3 separate regions of the Homo sapiens genome follow, and regions 1 and 3 are each linked to region 2. The links are contacts of gene promoters, found by promoter capture Hi-C in blood cells and fetal thymus (Javierre and others, 2016). All regions are on one chromosome and are shown on one strand. The core of a region is centred on a gene start or on the middle of the fragment in contact, and the rest is flanking DNA. Distances in the headings are between cores, read along the strand shown. Region 1 overlaps MRPL39 (mitochondrial ribosomal protein L39). Region 2 holds the start of CCT8 (chaperonin containing TCP1 subunit 8). Region 3 holds the start of JAM2 (junctional adhesion molecule 2).

Region 1 (3,642 bases), core at 896-3,395, 3.5 Mb after region 2:
GAACTAACTAGAAAGAGAAACCTGTGCTGTAAAAAAAAAAAAATAACAGAGTCTGAAGCCAAAATATGCACCTAAGAATTGTGAAAGTTTACTGATTAGAATTTCTTTAGGTATATAGAAGTTGAATTACAAATTCTCATAGGGATAGGTTATCGTAAATATATTGGGTTATGAGTGTGTTTTTGACACATACTTTATAGCTTGGCATTTCTCAAAGCAGTCTGTCTTATAGTATTCTTCTATAGGATGTTAATTGACATGTGAAACCATGTACTGTGTTAAGCTGAGTTTGAAGAACAGTGGCTTAAAAAATTTTACTCGGCTGGGCGCGGTGGCTCACGCCTGTAATCCCAGCACTTTGGGAGGCCGAGGCGGGCAGATCACGAGGTCAGGAGATCGAGACCATCTTGGCTAACACGGTGAAACCCCGTCTCTTTTAAAAATACAAAAAATTAGCTGGGCGTGGTGGCGGGCGCCTGTAGTCCCAGCTACTCAGGAGGCTGAGGCAGGAGAATGGCGTGAACCCGGGAGGCGGAGCTTGCAGTGAGCCTAGGTGGCGCCACTGCAGTCCGGCCTGGGCGAAAGAGCGAGACTCCGTCTCAAAAAAAAAAAAAAAATTTTTACTCATCGCACTCAACGGTCTCCCAAAGTGGACATTGAAAATTTCCCAAATATATTTGCCCATGAAACACTTTTTCTTGAAACATTTTTAGCGTGTCCTGGAACCAGTGGATTTAGAAACCAGTTGTAATGTACTGTTTTAACTAGAGTACAGATAGTATTGTAGAACCAAACCACCATTTATAGCATTGATTCGACAAGAAAATTCTTTGGACTATCTGAACACGTGAAGTCACTCTCTGTGACAAAAGTCTAGGCACATGCTGCCCAAAAGAAATATAATATGAGACATCTGTATAATTTGAAATTTTCTGTAGTTGCATTGAAAAAAAGTCAAAACAAAAGTTGAAGTTAATTTTAATGATTTTATTTAAATGATACATCTAAAATGTTACTCAGTGTAATCAATATTAAAATATTGATGTTATTTTATATTCTTTTTCACTAAATCTTCAGAACCTGGTATGTGTTTTACACTTAAGGCACATTTTAACTAGTACTAATCACATTTAAGTGCACCATGGTACTTTACTGGACAGTGTACTTTTGACTTCCATTCAGTACACATTGAGATTTCCCATTCCTCTAACTGTCAAGGACTGGTAGCGGCTTCTGGGACTTTTGTAACTTAGTTGAGTGTGTGGTAGGAGGAAGGGGATAATTCTGGAGGAAGCTTGATAGGACAAAAGAGTTGGTTCATTGAAGGTGGGTCAGTGATTGAGTCCTTCTGCTGCAGGAGTAAGGGTGGGACCTTTTTGTGGCTTTGACTCTCAGGGGACAGGAGCATCTCTTGGAGGTGGGTCAGGAGGGATAAGTATTCAAGGGAATTGGCACCCTTATTAGTGCCTGGGGGACTGTAGCAGTCAGTGGGTGTTTTTGCATAAACCAGTGTTCCCTAACTTTGCCACATAATTGTGCATACACCTGTGGTGCACCTACACATATTACTTGTTTAGCACCCTGAGGTAAACAGACAAAGCTCTCAATAGTAAATGGTAAAGTCATGGTTTGAACCTGGGCTGTGCAGTTTCATCTGTGCCTTTAGCTATACTGACAGAATTGGGTAGATTTGAGAGATACTGGGCAGTCAAATTGACAACTTGATAATGAATTGAATAAAGGAGATATGGTAGGAGAAAGGAATCAAGGAAATCTCCCAGGTTTTTCACATGGACACCTGGGTGGTTGGTGGTATCGTACTAAGACAGGAAATTCAGGAGGAAGAACAAGTTTGGGCGGGGAAAGAGGTGGTAATTTGTGCAGTTTGCAAATTTCAGGGTAAGGTGCTTGTGGAACATCCTAGAGGATGTCCAAATGGGTCTTGGATATACAGTTTGGTGGTCAGAAGAGGTAGGTAGATTAGAAGCAGAGATATAGGACATACAACTACATAAGTTGTAGCTCAAGGGGCTGACCTAGGGAGGATGCTTAGCGTGAAAAGAGGGTGTAGGATAGAATTCTCAAAGGGTAGAGAAAGACAGGAGTGGCCAGAGATGTAAAATAACAAGCAGTAAGGAATGCCACTGATACCCATGGAAAGAGCACTTTGAGGCTGGATGTGGTGGTTCATCGCTATAATCCCAGCATTTTGGGAGACTGAGGCAGGAGGATTGCTTGACACCAGGAGTTTGAGACCAGCCTGAGCAACATGGCAAGACCCTATCTTTACCAAAAAAAGTTAGCCCGGCATGGTGGCTCACACCTGTAGTCCCAGCTACTTGGGTGGCTGAGGCAGGAGGGTCGCTTGAGCCCGAAGTTTGAGACTGCAGTGAGCTATAATTATGCCACTGCATTCCAGGGTGGGTGATAAGAGTAAGACCCTGCCTCAAAAAAAAAAAAAAAAAAAAGAACAAAGAAATAAAAATGGAAAGAAAGAACACATTGAGAAGTGGAGGTGAGCATTGGTATTAAGAAAATGAGGACCAAAAAATGTCCACTGGGTTGACACCAAGCAGGTCTGTGACTTTGTTGAGAACAGTTTGGCAGAGTCATGGGGCTGTGGCCAGATTAAAGGGAGGTTCCAAGTGTAACCTACTCTCAGAAAGTATGGCTGAAGAGGAAGAGAAAGGGAGGTATCTTTAAACACCTTTTTACATATTTTGAGTTAAAAAAATGTTTTTTTCTTTGCTGCTTTTCAGGTACAAAGTAGATTTCATAGAAGAGAAGGCATCTCAGAACCCTGAGAGAATAGTCAAGCTACACAGGTAAGTAAAAGTCTAAAAACTGGCTGCTATGTTAGAGTAAGGCTTAGCTTTATTGTTATCTGAATGAAGCATATGACCAAAAAAGATGAATTTGTGTCTTATTTTGTTCTTATTACCTTATTTTTGGTTGCTTCGTTCATTGTTTTGTTATGGTGGTAAATGGAAGCTTTAAATTATCTTCAGGAACACTTGTGGTTTCTATAATCCTCATTTTATTGTTTGCTATTTTTATTTAATTTTGAGTTGAAAACCACTGTTTAAGAATGTAATTTTTAGGTGTTTTGAAACTGGGCAAGATAGTCATTGTGATGAATTGAACATCGTAATTCATATGAATACTGACTAACTAGTAATTACTTAAGATACATGTAAGTTAAGCCAGAATGTGCTTTCTCAAGCATGGATGAGAAAGGTCCACTGCTTATGATGACGTTCTCCCATGGGGAGCAAGTCCCAAGACAATGCATTCTGCAGAAATGACTTCATGACCTGGATCCATTTTCTCAGCCTCCTGTTTTTATGAATTGGACTTCACTTTTTTCCTCTAGAAACTGCCCTTTGTTTCTGAACACAATCTGTCCTACACACTGAATTCTCAGCTTCGTTACATGGGTTATTGTAAGGTTGTAGATGATCGGTTTTAGGCAATTGGATCAGCTTGATAGCATGATGTGTTGCGTGACTCTTAAAGACCTTAAAACCTATATCAATGCTAATTAAGAAAATGGTTCATTTGATTTAATTTTCAAAGTTTTAGCCTCTTTACTTGAGATCATTATGTCAGGGGTCATTAGAAACTGAATTGAACCATATATAA
Region 2 (3,866 bases), core at 349-2,848:
ACGTTATTTAAAAAATAATAATCCTATCACATGATAATATGTATGTTTTTATTTAAAATATCTCTATTTTCCAAGAATGAAAAGGGTGGCTGTATTAGTCCGTTCTCGAATCGCTATAAAGAACTACCTGAGACTGGGTAATTTATAAAGAAAAGAGGTTTAATTGGCTCACAGTTCCACAGGCGGTACAGGAAGCATGGCTGGGGAAGCCTCAGGAAGCTGACAATCAAGGTGGAAGGTGAAGGGGAAGCAGACACATCCTACAAGGCTGGAGGAGGAGGAAGAGACAGAGTGGGGAGGTGCCACACACTTTTAAACAACCAGGTCTTATGAGAAGTCACTCACTATCACAAGAACAGCTGGGGATTATAATTCCACATCATATTTGGGCAGGCAATTCAAACATATCAGTGGCATTTACATTTTTGCAAAAATCCAAACCATATCAGTGGCATTTACATTTTTGCAATTTTTTTTTTTTTTTGAGACAGGGCCTCACTCTTGCCCAGGCTGGAGTGCAGTGGCATGATCTCAGCTCACTGCTGCCTCAACCTCCCAGGCTCAAGCAGATCCTCCAACCTTAGCCTCCCAAGCAGCTGAGACTACAGGTGCATGCCACCAAGCCAAAGGGATTTATATTTATCTATAAATTCATATATAAATCAGATATATTTATATAAAATGTGTATATTATATATATAAATCAGATAAATAAATATGTATTTATATCTGATCTTAAAAGAGTAAAAGGGATTTATATTCCCAGGAAGAAGTAGAAAAGAGGAATATAGATAGTGGTTAAGAACCGGCATTTTGCAATAAGTCTGATCTAGATAGGAATTCTAGCTTTAATATTTACTAGCTCTGTGATCTTGGGAAAATTATTTACAGTTTGTGAACTTCAGTTTCCCTTCTACAAAATAGAGACAGTACCATTTAATTTTTAATTTTTAATGGTATCGTCTCCATTTTATGGAAGGAAAACTAAATGGTATTTTAACCGACAATTCATTAATTTTTAAGACTGACCATTAACAGAGATACTGCATGTAAAGCAGATCACACAGAATATGGCACACTTGAGCACTTGATGTGTACTACATTACTCTTAGTGACGACTTTAATTATCGTGCGCATTCCCAGCGCTTCCTATGGTGCCCAACACAGAGCGGACGCCTAGAGACAATTTTGGGGGATGGGGCAGATGCTCTGCCTCGGGAAAAAAAAAGCACACCTGCCCTGACGTTGGTGGCTGGGTCTGGAAGATACGTGGAAATTAAGCTAAGGATGTGTGGCTTCCAGATCAAAAACCGCAAAAATCTAACGCCGTGACTACTGACTACGGTCAGAGAGCACAGACTGGAGCAACCTCTCACGGCCTGGGCTGTCTGCGCGTGCGTGAGCCAGAAACCCGAGGGGCTCCCTGGGCCCGCCCTATCGATCGACCCGATCGGGGATCGTCAGCTTGGTTCTGGCCACAGAGGTTGCTCTTCTCGCGATGCTTCAGACCTGGCGGCAGGGAAAGGGTGGGCTAATTGGAGAGCCAGGAAGAGCGTGAGGCGGCCCCACGCTGCTTTCCCAGAAGGCTGTGCGTGCTCCTCGCTTCCTCCGCGGTCTTCCGAGCGGTCGCGTGAACTGCTTCCTGCAGGCTGGCCATGGCGCTTCACGTTCCCAAGGCTCCGGGCTTTGCCCAGATGCTCAAGGAGGGAGCGAAAGTAAGGGCTGAAGGAAAGGAATGAGGTGGGAGCGTCAGCATAGGGCTGCGGCGGCCGCGGCGAAGTAGGAGGGCCTACTAACGGGCTGAGCGTGCTGCCCTGGCTCAGCGGCCGGGGGAAGAGAAGATTCCAGAAAGGGAGGTGATTTTGGAAGGGCTCGGCCACCGGAGCCTGCGGGCACTTCTCTTCTTCCGCGACCGGGAGAAGGCCGAGGGATCGGCGGCACGATCGACATTGTACACCTTGAAGGTGGACGGATGTGAAGCCGCGCGTGCGTTTTGCCTCCATCCGTAAATGGGGCTAAGGCCCGTCACCCTTAAAGGAGGTTGTGAGGGTGAAATTGAATAACGTAGATGAAATTGTCTTGAGAACTGCGACGTCGATTATCACATAGCTCGCGAGTTGTAGGATGGGGAAGAACGAGAACTAGCCGATCCAGAGAAGAGAGTGGGAAAAAGGGCCGGGTCTTGGTTGCTTGCTTCCCAGTGAGAAACATACGGCTTTCAGCTTAGTTGACAGAAGCCATGCGTTGTAGCCAAATGAGTTCCGGTCCCAACTTATGTTAGCTGGCTTAATCTAAAATGTAACTTTCTTGGGTTTTGTTTCCTTCGTCTTTAAATTATGGAGATTGGACCAAGAGGTGGTGTCTTTGAGTTCTGTGTAATCTGCAGGATAAGTGATAGAGGGGTGCAGATAACACTTTTGTTTAATGGCCTTTTCTTGAACGTTAGTTCGGTAGCATAGTTTTAAAAAATATCTTACTGCACTATTGATAAATTTGTCTCTTGTGCTATTCAAATTGCATTCCTCTGTGTGTCCTCCAGATTTTGTTAATTCAAGAAATAGATCAGTGTGGTTGAATTTAAGGTTTTATGCGAGGTACGGGGAGCATTAACAGTTTAATAGAACTAGGTTCATGTTTGTAGGATGCACTTTTCAAATAATGTCGGTATAGTAAGTAAATGTCAGGGTTCAAGGTAAATGTTGGTGGAATAATCTTTTGAAAATGATATGGGCTGATTCCCTTGAAAAAATCAGGCTGAGATAATAGCTTCCAATTTGGGTTTTTTTCACTAATACAGTTTTGGAAAACTCGTGTATCACAAAACATTATTTGTCATTCCAGTGCTAGTAGTTTTTTACAGAACACTGAGCTATTTCTTTCAATAAATAGGTACTGAAGGAACTGCAGTGAAAGACAAAAGTCCCATTTGTCGTAGAGTTTATGTCCTTCTAAGGCAGAAATAATGATTAAATAAAAGGAGAATTCCAAATAATGATGAAAGAAACTGCACTATAGTAGAGGATGACAGGAGGTAAAAATGTCTGTAAAAGAAGGATCAGGAATAGACAGAACACTTAGACGTTTAGGGAAGAACTCTTAGCTCAGTGCTTAGTGAGAGAAGCCCCTGAGCCTGGGCTGTTTCCCCCGACCTCTTACTTAGGGGGAAATGCCAGGCTCAGGGACTAACTAGTACAAAGACCCTGAGGAAGGAATGATTTTGACCTGTTTTTTTTTTAAAACAACAACAACAACAACAGGTTGTAGGGCTGAAGCTTACCAAAGAAAGGAAGAATGGTAAGTTCAGAGGAGGAGCCATACAAGGGCCGGGATACGTAGGGCCTTGTTTCCTTGAAAAGGGATTTGCATTTTATCCTAAGCTGGTTGGGAAACCATTGAAGGGTCTTAAGTATGGGAATGAGGGGATCTGATCAAATGGTAGTTTCTCACAGAATGGGGAGTGAGGGGAAGAAGCAAGAGTGTAAGCCAGGAGTTCAGACTTAAGTGTTATTGCTGGAATAACAGTTCTTATTGCTGAAGATGCTTTTAAAGCAGTGGCTATTGGCAGGGGTTGGTGGCTCACACCTGTAATCCCAACACTGGGGAGGCCGAGGTCAGTGGATCACTTGAGGCCAGGAGTTCCTGGCCAACATGGTGAAACTCCGCCTCTCAAAAAAATACAAAAAAAACCAACCTGGTGTGGCGCGCACCTCTAATCCCAGCTACTCAGGAGGCTGAGCCTCCAGAATTGCTTGAACCCGGGAGGCCCAGGTTGCAGTGAGCTGAGATCGTGCCACGATCTCAGCTCACTGCACTCCAGCCTGAGCGATAGAGGAGACTCTCTCTCTCTCAAAAAAGAGTAATGGCTA
Region 3 (4,001 bases), core at 785-3,284, 3.4 Mb after region 2:
CACTAAAAGGCACACTCTTTTCTATTTGAAATTTAGAATTTCAGCAGAATACATAACTTTCTCAGTTGTTCTGTTAACGATTTCTCCAGCCTACCTCTCTGTTGCCTTTTAGCATGAGTGCATTTTTTTTCTTCTGTGTGTTCCATATGATACCAATTGATATTTCAGAATTGCACAAGGGTTTCATTGTGAAACTTTGGCTTTCTGGTTTGACTTTATATAATATTGGTCAGTACATGTCCCTTGCCTGAGACAATGTGCACCTTCCTCCTCCACAAAGGGACGTGGCTCACATCACTTGAGCTGTGCGATGATCACTTGGGCAGCGAGGGCGTGAGAAAATATCATTGTATTGTGGTATTAGACACTCGTCCCGCAGGTTAAGTATTATAAGTGTTACTTTACCAGAACGTGAATAGCAACAATAACTCATTTTACAAAAGAAAGAAAGAGAGACAGAAAGAAAGAGAGAGAGAAAGAAAGAAGAAAGAGAAAGGAAGGGAGGAAGGAAGGAAGGGAAAAAAGCAAAACAAAAAAGGTGAGAGAAAAAAGAAAAAGCAAAAGTAGAACTGCATTGCTTAGTCTATTGTAATTTCCTCCATTTTCCTAAAAAGTTAACGCGAAGAAAACAAAATAACGGCAACGTTCCCAGGATTTCAAATCTCATGAGTCCAGAATCCGTGAAAATCCTGTTTAAAATCATCCGGTGAAATTGGCTTTGGGACGTCTCCCCAGCTACTGGATCATGTGGCTTCTGAATCTTTCTAACAATCGTCCCGTTGGATGTCCCCTGAGGACAGAGCAGCTGGCTAGAGTCCCCAGACCAGACTTCTCTAAGTGAATGTAGATGTGCAGGTGGAGAGGATAAAAGTAATTCTGGCTCAGCAGCCACGAATTCCCTCCACCTCCGCCCCACAAGTGCGCTGCATATCGCCGGCTCAGCTGGGACGCTACAGAGCCCAGACCACGCGGACGCTGCCCCCTCCCCGGGGACTCAAAGTGTGGCCGGCGCCCGCCTCCCAGTGATGCCATCTTTCTTGGGGTCTTAGCATCTTACCAGTGGGTAGTGAGTTTTGCATTCGAATCACGTCCCTCTGTCTGAAAACTTACCCCAACTTTGCAAACAGATGAGAACCTGCTAGTGGGAACCCTTAATTTTCTGTATCTAGAACTGACAAAATCAGACGCAATTCACAAGAAACCCACGACCTCGCGCTCCCTTGCTCCCAGCGTCCGCTCGCGGGCACCCTGGGTTTCCCGCTCGCCTGGGCGCAAGGTCAGACGCCCCGCGGCGACCTCGGCCCAGAGCCGCCCAGACACTGTCAGCCAGCGCCCCGTGGGGGGCTGGAGGGTGGGGGCAGGCTGGTCCAGGCAGGAAGGGTAGAGGAACCCGAGCAACTTACAGCCCAGGGCGACCACCAGGTAGCGCAGCAGCAGCAGGAGGAGGCGGTGGCGGCTCCTCCTCGCCATCTTCCCGGGGCGGCAGCCGGCTGCTCTGAGGAGGTCGAGGGTCCCGGCGGCAGGAGCGCAGGAGGCCGGGGGCCCTTGAACTTCTGGGGCGGGAAAGGAGCAGAGAGTCGGGAGGGGAGGAAGAGGAGGGACGGCTCTAGATGGGATGTCAGTTTCCCCCTCCCCGGGGCGCCTTCTCAGCTGGCTGCCAAGAGGCGGGTCCTCCAGCCCAGGGATGGGGGTCTGTTCTGTTTTGGGGGTGTGGGGGTAGGGGCTAGAGGGCGTGAAAACCAGACGAGGCGTCCGCCGGGTCCTAGCGAGGGGGCAGCAGGAGGAGAGCAGCGCCCGGGAAAGCCCCGGCGGGTCGTCCCTCCGCCCCCACGCCTCCGGGATTGATCGGCTTTGTGTCTGGTCCGCGCGGGGCTGCCAGCTGTCCCCAGGGCGAGGAGCTGGGGGCGGGAGGCGCGGGCAGGCTGGGGGTGGGGGGATTGGGTGTCTCGGGGACGGGGATGTATGCGGGTAGGGAAACGCCTCCTGTTTTGCCCCAACTCCTTTCTTCCCCTCGTTGGCTCAAAACTTCTTTCTGGCTTTTCAGCCTAGGGGTGGAGATATTTGGAAAATTCTGCCCAACGGGCGAAGCTGAGGGGGTGGCGCTCTGAGGAGATGGGGTTCGCGGGCTCCGCCTCGAACTCGAGAAAAAAAAAAGCAATCAAGACTCGTGCTGGAAGTCAGGTCTCAGATTTTAGTACAGCCTTGGTCCCTTCTCAGTTTAAGCTTTTTGCTCCTTGGAGATTTGAGGTGCATTTGTCTCGCGTTCTTGTTCTTTGCTTTTTTTTCAGTGTCAGAGTTGGAAGTTCATCTAATGGTGTGAAATATTTATCATGTTTCTTTCAAGTTACATAACTGCTGCTTGTGGAGTTTTCCACGTGTTAAAACTCTACAGCTGCCCTTTGTCAGGTTTATTTTTGGTCTACTGTGCTTTTAAAAGGGAAACCCATTATGAATGCTCTGTTGCGTGCTTTAAAATTGCACCACACTTACATTGGACGCACGTACACTGGCAATTTTTATATTTGTTCCTAGGGACCAAAAATGTATGGTGTATTCAAGAGTATTGGCAGGTCTGGAAAAAGGCCATTCCCAGGAGAAGAAATTAGTATACATCAGTTTTTTTCTTTTGTTTTTTTGTTTGTTTTTGTTTTTGTTTTTTTTTAAAGGTTGAATAATGGATGAAGTTCTGTACAGCAGATAGTTGATTTAGTGGTGTATTTAAAAAGAATTCAGCTAGCTCAGTGGACAAAGGCGACCAGAGTTTAGCTGTGCAGAACTGTGAGGAATGAGGCATCCTTGCTGTTGCCGTGGTGACAGTGATGAAAACTTAGTACCCAGGGAGGGGGTGGGAGGAGAGGACCCAGGGGACCCAGAAAGGAAAGTCAAAATGGCAAAATGTTAAAACTCGTACTCCAGTCAACCGAGGAGAAGGGGCACAGATTTAACAACAGCTTATGCCAGTTTTTCTGGGCAGTAATGAGAAGGATTTGATGCTTAAAAAGAAAAGTTGTTGGCATCTTCTTTTTTCTAATTCTTGCTACAGCTATATGTCTTTTACTCCTCCCTAAAAATATACACAAAAATGTCATACTTAAAAAAATTCTATGCAATCCTATGTGAGTAACTGACTAAGTTATTTATTTGCCACCCAGCCAAGGCATTTGACAAATGGCAACAATGTGCTGGATGCTGAAGGACAACCATGAACAAGATAGAGGCTTTCTTGCTAACAAGCTCACAGTCTTGAGGGGAGACAGAGTCTTATCAGGAAAGATGCCTGATACCACATGGTAAATGTTACAGGAGGACAGAAAATAATAACAGCTATTTTTATTGCATGCTTTCTCAGTGATGGAGTCTGAATAACGCAATATCTAATCCCCCAACAACTCCATAAAAGAGGAAATGTTATCATTCCCACTTTGCAGATGAGAAAACTGGGCGGAGAGACACTAAATGGCTTGTCCAAGGTCCATGATAAGGGGCTGTTCCTTTTGTTGGGAGTGGGGCCAGGGCTTTCTTTATTAAACCTTGAAAAATGGGTCAAATTCTGAAGGGAAGGACATAAAGGAGAGGCATTCTACATAGAGGAAACAGCAGGATCCAGAGCTAGGAGATTGAAAAATTATGGTTTATTTAGAAAAAGCAAGGTTCTACAGTACTAAAGTGTATGTGGGATCGGGATAGTGAGGTAGGTGGTGGTGGTGGTAGAAACTGAAGGGGAGGTTAGAGTACGAAGAGCATTCACGCTACTGTCTAGACCTCATCCTACAGCTAATGAGCTTTTTGAAAGCAATGAGATAAGAAAAGACTCATATTTTAGAACTGTGGTGTCCAATATGGTAGCCTATAGATCTAAGTGGCTATATACATTTTTTTTGTTTTGTTTTTAATTTGAGACAGAGTCTCACTTTGTCACACAGGCTGGAGTACAGTGGTGCAATCTCAGCTCACTGCAACCTCCGCCTCCCAGGTTCAAGTGATTCTCCTGCCTCAGCCTC

What was found. Contacts are between HindIII fragments. The CHiCAGO score rates a contact against its expected background, and 5 or more counts as called.
Region 1: a fragment that was not itself captured here is called in contact with the fragment with the promoter of CCT8 in region 2 in 2 of 17 cell types (total CD4 T cells and naive CD8 T cells); the score reaches 7.4 in total CD4 T cells.
Region 3: the fragment with the promoter of JAM2 here is called in contact with the fragment with the promoter of CCT8 in region 2 in 1 of 17 cell types (total B cells); the score reaches 5.1 in total B cells.

The regions. Positions count from the first base shown.
Region 1 is chr21:25,593,076-25,596,717 of GRCh38, reverse strand. It overlaps MRPL39 (mitochondrial ribosomal protein L39), which reads left to right. Exons shown (of 10, transcript NM_017446.4): 7 at 2,760-2,825. Among named protein-coding and RNA genes, the nearest start is that of LINC00515, 12 kb to the right of the region's middle. The HindIII fragment of the contact is 1,697 bases long and covers 1,297-2,993 here.
Region 2 is chr21:29,071,380-29,075,245 of GRCh38, reverse strand. It overlaps CCT8 (chaperonin containing TCP1 subunit 8), which reads left to right and starts at 1,598. Exons shown (of 15, transcript NM_006585.4): 1 at 1,598-1,715. The coding sequence starts at 1,656. RefSeq lists enhancers at 1,373-1,542, 703-1,614, 1,993-2,162, 1,615-2,526. The HindIII fragment of the contact is 10,437 bases long and covers 1-3,274 here.
Region 3 is chr21:25,637,291-25,641,291 of GRCh38, reverse strand. It overlaps JAM2 (junctional adhesion molecule 2), which reads right to left and starts at 2,034. Exons shown (of 10, transcript NM_021219.4): 1 at 1,404-2,034. The coding sequence starts at 1,470. RefSeq lists enhancers at 1,052-1,121, 1,024-1,524, 2,262-2,401 and a silencer at 1,852-2,041. The HindIII fragment of the contact is 2,383 bases long and covers 1-2,225 here.